3 separate regions of the Homo sapiens genome follow, and all the other regions are linked to region 1. Evidence: promoter capture Hi-C in 16 types of primary human blood cells and fetal thymus (Javierre and others, 2016). All regions are on one chromosome and are shown on one strand. The core of a region is centred on a gene start or on the middle of the fragment in contact, and the rest is flanking DNA. Distances in the headings are between cores, read along the strand shown. Region 1 holds the start of ARL13B (ARF like GTPase 13B). Region 2 overlaps ARL13B (ARF like GTPase 13B). Region 3 overlaps ARL13B (ARF like GTPase 13B).

Region 1 (3,547 bases), core at 800-3,299:
AATGAGAGTTCTTCAGGGTTTTTCATTCTTCATCGAACCCAAGTATAAAAATGGGTAGTCTTCCCTGCATCTTTGCATCTCCATTTGCAAGGTTCCCATGTCACATAAAACTTGGATTAAATAAATTTGTTATGCTTTTCTCTTGCTATTCTTTTTGTTATATGAGTGTTGGCTGTGACTGTTATGATGAGAAGAAAAGGTATCACCCCCTTTGTTCCCCATAAGGCACAGTATTTTGGAGATAGCAAGCTGTATGAGATGTATATAAATTTGAATTAAAATTACATGAGGCTGGGTGCCATGGCTCATGTCTATAATCCCAGCACTTTTGGGAGGCCGAGGCAGGCGGATCATTTGAGGCCAGGAGTTTGAGACCAGCCTGGGCAACATGATGAAACCCTGTCTCTACAAAAAATACAAAAATCAGCTGGGCGTGATGGTGCACGTCTCTAGTCCCAGCTACTTGGGAGACTGAGGAAGGAGGATCACTTGACCCCAGGAAGCGGAGGTTGCAGTGAATCGAGATCATGCCACTGTACTCCAACCTGGGTGATAGAGGGAGACTCTGTCTCAAACAAAACAAAACAAAACCAAAAAAAGTTACATGATTTAGTAAAGGACAGAGACTAATTTAAAACCTATATGTATCTTAGTCTCAAATCATTATATTCCCCGCGAATACACTGGGATTCTCAGTGCCTTCTATCCTTTCATCAGGATTTGAAAATATTTATTTAAGTAGAAAATGAATGGACACACAGATCCCTACATATTGTGCATAATTTTTTCCCTACAGGAATGTCCTTGTCATTTCTTTTTCTCCAAAGTATATAAAAGAAATGCAAATATTACATACCTCTTTAAAAAATAAACTATTACAAAACAGTCAAGAGATAACAATCTTCATCTTGCAGATACCAAATAGCCAGCAATTTATGTACCTAAAAATCCTGAAACAAACATACATCAAAATGGTTATTTATTTATTTTTGAGACGGAGTCTTGCTCTGTTGCCCAGACTGGAGTGCAGTGGCGCGATCTCGGCTCACTGCAACCTCCGCCTCCCGGGTTCAAGCAATTCCCCTGCCTCAGTCTCCAGCGTAGCTGGGACTACAGGCGCGTGCCACCACACCCGTTTTTGTTTTTTTTTGTTTTTTTTTTTTTGTATTTTTACTAGAGACGGGGTTTCACCATGTTAGCCAGGATGGTCTAGATCACCTGGCCTCGTGATCCGCCCGCCTCGGCCTCACAAAGTGCTGGGATTACAGGCGTGAGCCACCGCGCCCGGCCCCAAATGGTTATCTTTGAGAGCTCCTGTGAGATCTCATTTTCTTCATCTTGTTTCTTTTTAGTATTTTTCACATTTTCTACAAGAAATGCATTTTTCTTTTGTAATCACAATCCCCCCTACAACAAATATCATACAATTCCGTTTCACATATGTAACAGTAATAAACGTTTTAGAGATTAAGGCTTCACTCTCATCTGAACTACTGAGAAAATTTAGCAAGCGAATTTCCCCCTTGTCTTTAACTTACAAGAATTGCCCCAGTGTATTGTTCCTGTAGTCATGCTGCCTAAGTCGGCCAGAATTCTAGAGGGTCCCCATCCCTGAGCAAAAAACAAACAAACAAAAAACAAGAAAAAAGAAAGAAAGAAAAAGAAAAACCCATGCACAAGACCTGAGATCTCTGAATCTCAGTTGGGGACACTGGAGAAAGGAAAGGAACAGCACCGTGGATTGGCAACACATTTTATGTAGGTATAAAGATAGGCCTTGCTGGAGATTTGTCCCGGATCCTCCAGCTTATCTCCGGACGCTCCGGTTGCCTAGTTACGAGAACGAGCTACCTCGAGCTCCGCCTCCTTCTTATAGAGTACTCCCCTTTCTCTTTTCCTAGTCTCGCGCAGGGGCGGGTAGCCAGGACTCTTCAGCCACTCAGAGGCCTCTACCTCAGGACCTCAACCGATGATTGGGCGAGCGCAGTACGGGCGTTGCCTGGGGAACGCCTTCCGCGCCTCGAAGTAACGTCAGCACGTCGACGCGGGGCTTTTCTTTAGCCGGGTCCCGCTAACTCGGCTACGGTGTATCTGCGTCTTTGGTCAGGTTGTTCCTTGGCTAAGAGGGCAGTCGTCGCGGACCCACGCGGTTAGCAAGGCTTAGTGCTCGGGCCGGCCGCCTTCACTTCCCTCCCGGCTTTTCCTCCCGACTTATCCACTTTAGGGGCGTCTCGGAGTGCCGGAGGCCCCCGGGGAAGAGCGGGGTGCCGGTGTCCGCTCCGGGCTCGGATGGGAAGTGGTGGGAGGAGCGACCCGGGATGTTCAGTCTGATGGCCAGTTGCTGCGGCTGGTTCAAGCGGTGGCGGGAGCCTGTCAGGTAGGCTGGAGCCAGCTGTCCTGGCCGTCCTAGGGGTTGGAGATGGCTGCGCCCCAGGGGCGAGGCGCCGCCTTTTCCCCGCGCCTGGACGAGTCTATCCCAGGCCGCAAGGGATGCTTTCATTCCCAGGGTGTCCCGGGAGGGAGAGATTGGAGGATGTAGCCTTGTTGTCTGGTCGACTTTCTGTTGCGATTGACAATGCTTACCGTTGTTATATTTTAAATAGGTTTGAATTTGTTAAAAAGTGTGTGTGTGTGTGTGTGTGTGTGTGTGTGTGTGGAATTGAAAACTATCCATTGTGTGTTTTTCCTCTGAAGCTTTTGTAATGGAAATTCTTTTAAAAAGAGGGGGACATGGAATATAGTTTTCATAATATCCGCACATTCCATTCCAAGTCACACCTCCACACAGTTGTATTTGAGGACGTGGGCTTGAAATCTGGCTCCACTACTTAATAATTACATGACTCAACCATTTTGGCCCCACCTTTCTTAAATATTAAATGAGAGTGATAATACTCTGCTTTAGAAATATTGTATTCAATGAGAACAAGTGATAGTGTTTTCTTAACTGTAATGTAGCTTCCAATTTTTATACGGTCTCTAGTAAAACCTTTTAATTGAAAGGGTCCACTTTTTAACATTTCATTTTGAAATGCTGGAAGTATTAATAATTAGTACCTGTTACTTGATATTCATTCATTCAAAAAATATTTATTAAGACAATACCTTGTGCCAGGCACTGTCTTAGGAAATAATCAGTGAAATTGATGCTTTTGAAACTGAGGCCTAACCTATAAAGAGATCTTGTGTTTGTTACACAAATAATGTTGACTTCACATAGTTCTAGTCTGGAATTGGGCCAAGGGTAAGATAAAGCAAAGTTGTTTTTTTTTTTAAATTGTTAACATTTTAAGTATATTTGCCATGAGAATGAACTATCCTTTAAAGAATGAATCTGAAAAGCTACACTTACACATTATAACAGAAAATACATGTCTAGATTGGAAAAAAAGTAACTTTAAATGAAACTAGAGATTCTTCCCCATTATTAGCTCCTAACTGAATTTGAATGTTTTAAATATAAGTAGTAAGATCAACTCTGTAAGTCAAAGATGGGCTGGGTGTGGTGGCTCACGCCTGTAATCCCAGCACTTTGGGAGGCCGAAGC
Region 2 (3,600 bases), core at 779-3,278, 36 kb after region 1:
GTTACCTTCTGAGGATAAAAGATTTGATAAAGGGCTGGGCATGGTGGCTCACACCTGTAATTCCAACACTTTGGGAGGCCCAGGGGGGCGGATCACTGGAGGTCAGGAATTTGAGACCAGCCTCGCCAACATAGCAAAACCACCCCCTCTACTAAAAATACAAAAATTAACCGAGTGTGGTGGTGCACACCTGTAATCCCAGCTACTCAGGAGGCTAAGGCACAAGAATCGCTTGAAACTGGGAGGTGGAGATTGCAGTGAGCCAGGATCATGCCACTGCACTCCAGCCTGGGTGACAGAGTGAAACTCTGTCTCAAAAGAGAAAAGATTTGATAAAGGTTCTAGTTTGGTTTAGCTTTATTGTAGCATGATTCTTAACTATTAAAATATTCTCCAGTCAGCCAAATGGATTGCCTAGGTAGTCATTACTACTTAACACATGAGAGAAATGTATAATATAGAGCTTGATACCTGACCAGAAGACTAAGATTATGCATCTCATTTTCAATAGTTAATTTGTGAGTTGATGGTAACTGTATTTTTTTGTACTTTAATTAAATAAAAGTGTGTTTTATGTAACTGGCTACAGAAGTTTCTGAAATTTTAGTGGGTTAGGGTTAAAGGGGAAAATTACAACTTAACAGTGATGAAAGGTATGTGAGTGGATCCATGAGATGGAGAAAAACAATACAAGACACTGAAATATAAGCTATCTTTTACCGTAAAGCTGGAAAAAGTTTTAAAATAGCTTCTTTATTTTGAGCTACAGCATGGACAGCACCAACAACACAGTACTCTGCAAGGATTTCTTTTTTTGTATTTTACAGCTAGTCCAAATTTCTCTTTAGTATTGTTAACATACTCTTTTGTACTATTCACTGTCATTTCAATATTGTTGATGCTCTCTCCTTGTTCCTCTACTAAAAGAGATATCTGAATGAAAAGATCCCTTAAATCCTTTATTTGGTTCTCCAAATTAACAAGTTCCTTGTGTCTCTGTTCAATCTCTGAAAGTTGTGCTTTAGTGATATTGATTTCTGTAAGTAAGCTTTCATTAAAAACTTCCCATTTTCCTTGATGAAGCATATCATTTACATCTTCTTCAGACATCTCTTTTCCAGCAACTTCAAGCTGACGTAAAATAAATGTCTTGCACTTCTCTTGCTTTGCTGCTATTGTGTCATTGTATATAAACATGATTTGCTGAAAATGGCGGAACATTGCAGCATGCTGAGATTTAAGTATCCTTGTGACCACTGAAGATGGACCATTTTCAACCTCTGACTTTTTAACTTCTTTAACTAAATCATTCAAACTTCTGTTGATGTATTCTGCCTGAATTTTTATCTCCTTTGTAATGGTAGACTCTCTCTTAAGTAGACTAAACCTTCTCATTGAAGCCACCAGACTTTTCTGTTGCTGCCCAAATTTTTGAACATTATCTGCCAAATTGTTAATACTTTCCTGTAGTTTTTGGATTTCATGTAGGTGTCTCTCAGCTACAGGCTCTCTTTCATAAATAACAGCTTGCTGTAGAAACACCCCTTGTTCCTCTGTTTCTGTAGTTGATACATGACTGTCTCTAGAGAGTTCAATTTCCTTTGTTCTCTGCTTTAGTTCTTGAAGTCGGTCTTTCATCTTCCCTTTCCTCCTAAGAAGCAAAAATTTTTGTGTTGAACAAGTAGAAATTTGGTATTTTTCCCCAGTAGCAGTTGACTTCACATAACTGTCTATATCCCAGCAAAAGTTCTCCTAGTTTTCTCAAATGAGGTTAAAAAGTTAGAAAAAACCAATGAGTTTCCTCATAAAAACCATTTAAATAGGGAAAGAAATATAAAATAATTTGTAAGTTACTTTGCATGTGAGTGCTATTTAGTTGTGTGCAATAGCTGAGAAAGCAGTGATGCAGACACAGTTGGTCAAAAATATTTGTCACATGATAGTTTTTTTTTGTAATAAAGAATGCTTTTGACTATACCTTCAACCTATAGGATTAGTCTTCAGATGCCAAAAATGCCCTTGTTACTAAAGATACTGTTTCCGGTTAATTTGGCCAATGTAATATTAAAAAATACTCATTTTGCTAAATATGCATCATTCAGTTAAAACCATTGTAGTGACAGTACAGATTTTATATGAGAACGTTAAGCTATATGGATAATATTGAATTTATTTTAAATTTTCCGAAGCCTCTGAATTAACGTATTACTTGGCATAATGTTTTTTCTAGCTGTTGCATATATGTGAAAACATTGGTTTGATTATGCTGATTTCTCATTCTTAGCATTCTTTTGCAAAGATATCCAGACTGTCTTAGAACAAAATTTATATCAATTTGTGTTAGGTGATACTTTTATAAACATGAGAATATATTTATATACAATCTTATTTTAGGAGTAATAATGATATTGACACTTATCACATGCTGTGTTGGTAGTTATCTGTAAGAATCAAATTGATGTACATAATTTATATTTAATGATATAGATATATATGAAATGACATACATACATATAAAATGAAGGGAATAAAAAGCAGTAAAATGCTATTATCACAGAGCAACTTGATTTTAGAAATGTCTTTCAAGACATTTTTGAAGATAAGAAGAGGCTGTTAGGGAGTACAGATAGCTCATTGGACCACATATAATATTAATATCAACCAGAAAAAAAAGGTCTCTGAATGTGATGCTGTTATGCTGTAGGACTCAGTGTTTGATATGTTTATGGAAATATTTCTATTAATCTGGATGTTGTCATAGGAGGCATACTTAACAAATGTGTAGATGGTGTAAAATTTGGAGGAATCTTTAGTATGTTGAAGTACAGGGTAGGGATTCAAATATTAAAATAGTGTGGAACTTTATACTAAAAATAACAAAAATATATTTAACAGGAATAGATTTAAAATATTTCATCTAGCTATAAGAAAAATATTTTCGTATCTACAGAGTAGAAGACCCTTGGGTTCACAATAGTGTCTATGAAAGTATTGGAGATTTTAATTAATTAAGCTTTCTTTTTTTTTTTTTTGGAGATGGAGTCTTGCTCTGATGCCCCGGCTGGCATGCAGTGGTGCGACCTCAGCTCACTGCAACTTCTGCCTCCCGGGTTTAAGTGATTCTCCTGCCTCAGCCTCCTGAGTAGCTGGGATTACAGGTGCCTGCCACCATGCCCGGCTAATTTTTGTATTTTTGGTAGAGACAGGGTTTCACCATATTGGCCAGGCTGGTCTCAAACTCCTGACCTCGTGATCCGCCCACCTTGGCCTCCCAAAGTGCTGGGATTACAGGTGTGAGCCACCGCTCCCAGCCTAATTAAGCTTTCTGTCAGAACCATCAGAATAGTCACTATGCTTTTATAAATAATAGTCTGATGTATGGATAGACTAAACTCTGCCAACTCTATGCTATTCAGAGCAAATTGCAAGGGTAAGGGGAACTCAATAAACTTCTGAGCATATTTTGAGATGGAAGTTCTTAAGTTAGGAATTACCAGACTAGCATGGAAAGGATGAGATTGGAAAACCATACCAAATGGAGACTCATTGAAATAAATGGTAATATTTGTCCTGTAAAAGAGAAGATGTAGGGTGTGTATA
Region 3 (3,810 bases), core at 114-2,613, 56 kb after region 1:
ATAGTGGTAAATTGTGGTAAATCCTGTTTTTCTGTAGAATATATTGGTTTTCCATTTTGTTGGTGTCCAGTTTGTCTCTAATTGAGTACAATTTTTTTTTTTTTTTTAATTCCCAGTGCTTTGCCAAGTATATTAGAAGTGGCCTTGGGTCTTCAGTAAATTGCACATTTATGTGGACACATTCACACATTAGAATTGTAGATGAGCTCAAATATTAAAAGTTCAGAATGAATATTTGGGCATTTAAAACATTACAGTTTGTATTTTAAGAAGATAAGAATATAATTTATGGATGTGACCTGTGGAAATTAGTCCTCTTATTTTTCTGTTTTGTAGCTTTTTCTGTTTTGTTGGCATATTGATCTCTTGTTTATGTTTTCTTGACACTTTATTTGATTTTCCTTTTATAGGCCAGTACTTAAAAACTATTTTAGCAATAATAAGGGAAAAATGACAAAATTGATGCTACAACATTTTAAGATACTAGTGTGTTCTGTAATCAGTACATTTAAAACTTGGGAATCAAAGAATGTGGTCAGGCCAGGCATGGTGGATGATATCTGTAATCCCAGCACTTTGAGAGGCTGAGACTGACAGATCACTTGAGGTCAGGAGTTCAAGACCAGCCTGGCCAACATGGCGAAACCCAGTCTCTACTGAAAATACAAAAAATTAGCCTCGCGTGGTGGCACACAACTGTAGTCCCAGCTACTCTGGAGGCTGAGGCAGGAGAATCACTTGAACCTGGGAGGCGGAGGTTGCAGTGAGCTGAGATTGCACCACTGTACTCCAGCCTGGGAAACAGAGCAAGACTCAGTCTCAAAAAAAAAAAAAAAAAAGAATGTGGTCAAAATATCTTTAAGTTTCCATCCAATTATATATATGCTGTATAAAAGTACTTTAATTATCTTTCAGGTTGGCAAATAAACAAGATAAAGAAGGAGCTTTAGGAGAAGCTGATGTCATTGAATGTCTATCTCTGGAAAAATTGGTCAATGAGCACAAGTGCCTGTGTCAGATAGTAAGGTTTTTTTTTTTTTTTTAATTTTAATTTTTTGTCCTTTCAAATAGGTTCAGTATAACTTGGTTTTTATAAAAGTGATAGCAATTAAAAGGCAATGTTTTCAAAGAATTTTTTGTAACCTATGAAATCACATTCCCATTTTTCTGTTGATATAACTTAATACCATAATATTTGTTGTCTATTTCATTGTTATTTCCATGAACTATCTTTCCATGATTTCAAGGAGCTTCACATTTGCGTTTTAACATAGCCAACACATCATGGCATGAAATTTGTAAAATGGGAAAGAAAAGTGTAAATACAAAATTTAAACATATGAGAGATTCATAATGAATTTTGAAAAATTATTTTGCTGGGCATGGTAGCTCATGCCTGTAATCCCAGCACTTTGGGAGGTTGAAGGGGGCAGATTGCTTGAGCCCAGGAGTTTGAGACCAACCTGGGCAACATAGTGAGACCCTAGCTCTACAAAAAATACAAAAACTAGCTGGGTGTGGTAGTGTGTTCCTGTAGTCCCAGCTGCTTGAGGGGGCTGAGGTGGGAAGACCACTGGACCCTGGGAGGCTGAGGCTGCAGTGAGTTCTAATTCAGCCACTGCACTCCAGCCTGGCCAACAGAATGAGACACTGCCTCTAAAAAACAAAAAAAGAAAAGATAAATCATATCAGGAGAGATGTCATACAGTCTTAAGGAAGATGAACAGTGGATTTAATAATTTATTTTGGTTTCAAAAAACATTAGGCTGTCAATCTTATGGATGTTTACTGCTGTATATTGTAGTATAAGGAATTAAAACTTCCTGGCATTTTTAATCAATAGAGATGTCTTTTTATGGTAGTTAAATTTTTTCTTCTAATATTATAAGTGGCACTGTCACCCTCTTCTTTATAATATCTTACATAGTGTACAGATGTTATCTGTAAAATATTTTAAGTTCTATATACTGATGTTAATCATTGCAGTGCTATGTTTTGGAAGTTAAATAAGCAGATGCTTCATATTATTAACTTAAATGGCTTAATTTTGATTTGCCATTAATTATACTTAATGGTTTATGAATAGATTTGTGTGGAGACCTTTTAATCTTTTAGTCAAATAAATTTCTGTTTTAGGAACCATGTTCAGCAATCTCGGGGTATGGAAAGAAAATTGACAAGTCCATTAAAAAAGGCCTTTATTGGCTGCTACATGTTATTGCAAGAGACTTTGATGCCTTAAATGAACGCATCCAAAAAGAGACAACAGAGCAGCGTGCTCTTGAGGAACAAGAGAAACAAGAAAGAGCTGAACGAGTGCGAAAATTACGAGAAGAAAGGTAAGTAGATTAATTTTGTACCACAGTGCATTTGAAGGATCAAAAACATAACAATTTTATGAATCAGTTGTTAGTTTTATCTGTTCAGTTTCTTCTTTCTGTGTGAAGGAAGACACTAGGTAAATTTTGTATTTCTGTGGATCTTTTTCTGTACAAGTTTGGGTGGTAGATTCCTAATTTTTCTGGTGGTTGTATAATAGTTAAATTTACTCCTTACGTAGCCATTGTCTTCCAGAGTTTTAAATTTTTGTCTCTGATTGCTTGTGGGTACCTTAGTGCAGTGGTTCTCAATGCACAGGGTAGTTTTTAACATTTGGCAGTGTCTGGAGACATTTTTAGTTTTCACCACTAGGGGAAGGAGTGGAGTACTACTTGGAATCTATTGGGTAGAGGCCAGGGATGCAGCTAAACATCCTATGACACACAGGACAGTCTCCCACAACAAAGAATTATCAGGCTTAATATGTCAATAACGTTGAGACTGAGGAACCTTTTTAGTTTCAGCAAGGATAGAAGGTGAGCTGCTAGAGAATCATTCAACTCAAGCAAAATCTGATCCATAGTTGCCTTCCATCTGGCCTTTTATGTAGTTTAACATAGTTGTAGCCCAGTGAGCAAGAACTCACTACCCTTGGTGACCCATTATGAGGTACTTCCTTATACCGTGAAGGAAATCCTCTGATAACTGGTATTTTTCATTTAATTCATCAATAGGACTTAAAGAAATATTTATAGAAATGACTCTCTATCCCCAAGTGCTCAATAATATGAGCGTGCCTTTCATCTAGGGATCTCTTTATATAAAAGACAGATTAGAGTGAATGATTTTGGCAGCTGTTGATACAAGGTTTTAGTTCCTGTGAGAATATTTGTTTTTTTCTTAGTATGTATTTTTATCATATAAAGCTCAGTACAACCAATCATGCATGTTAAGTATACCTTTTATATATAATATTTATAAAAATTAAATATATGGCCATAATTATGTGAAAACTCCTTTTCCTCCACTAAGAAAATAAAAACAGAAGCAACAAAAAAATTGAGTTGGATAAAAGAAATCTAATGTTAGTAACTTTTTAAATGTTTTTGCCTTTTCCATAATGATATTCTAGATCATGTTATGGCAGGCTTTTCCAATACTCCTTACCCTTTCTTTCTTTCTCTTTATCCATGCCAGTTGTGGTCTGAGACCTCTCCTCTTGAGGAGACCTCTTCTGTTGAGCCAATACTCCATAATTAAAAGCAAATTGACATTCGGAGACGGGTGATTAAAAACAAGCTTTTTACTTCACTAAATCCAATCTAATTGGTTCAGATAGTCATTTCTAGTGTTTTTGAAAAACAGTAAAACATGCCAAGTAAAAATAATATATTAATACTGTATTCCTGAAGTTGCTTACTAATAAATAAAATTAATAACAATGACTATCCTATGAGAAAGTTAATTCACAGAGTGTTCTCACATATATTA

What was found. The method cuts DNA at HindIII sites, captures the fragments that hold promoters and counts their contacts. A CHiCAGO score of 5 or more calls a contact.
Region 2: a fragment that was not itself captured here is called in contact with the fragment with the promoter of ARL13B in region 1 in 2 of 17 cell types (fetal thymus and activated CD4 T cells); the score reaches 5.9 in fetal thymus.
Region 3: a fragment that was not itself captured here is called in contact with the fragment with the promoter of ARL13B in region 1 in 7 of 17 cell types (monocytes, non-activated CD4 T cells, total B cells and 4 more); the score reaches 8.5 in monocytes.

The regions. Positions count from the first base shown.
Region 1 is chr3:93,978,106-93,981,652 of GRCh38, forward strand. ARL13B (ARF like GTPase 13B) reads left to right here and starts at 2,050. Exons shown (of 10, transcript NM_001174150.2): 1 at 2,050-2,377. The coding sequence starts at 2,319. RefSeq lists enhancers at 1,658-1,817, 2,088-2,217. The HindIII fragment of the contact is 5,745 bases long and covers 1-2,692 here.
Region 2 is chr3:94,013,632-94,017,231 of GRCh38, forward strand. All of the region lies in intron 3 of ARL13B (ARF like GTPase 13B), which reads left to right. It overlaps STX19 (syntaxin 19), which reads right to left. Exons shown (of 2, transcript NM_001001850.3): 2 at 734-1,651. The coding sequence starts at 1,638. The coding sequence ends at 754. Among named protein-coding and RNA genes, the nearest start is that of STX19, 13 kb to the right of the region's middle. The HindIII fragment of the contact is 1,965 bases long and covers 1,047-3,011 here.
Region 3 is chr3:94,034,416-94,038,225 of GRCh38, forward strand. ARL13B (ARF like GTPase 13B) reads left to right here. Exons shown (of 10, transcript NM_001174150.2): 4 at 916-1,021; 5 at 2,137-2,339. Among named protein-coding and RNA genes, the nearest start is that of STX19, 7.7 kb to the left of the region's middle. The HindIII fragment of the contact is 4,506 bases long and covers 1-3,616 here.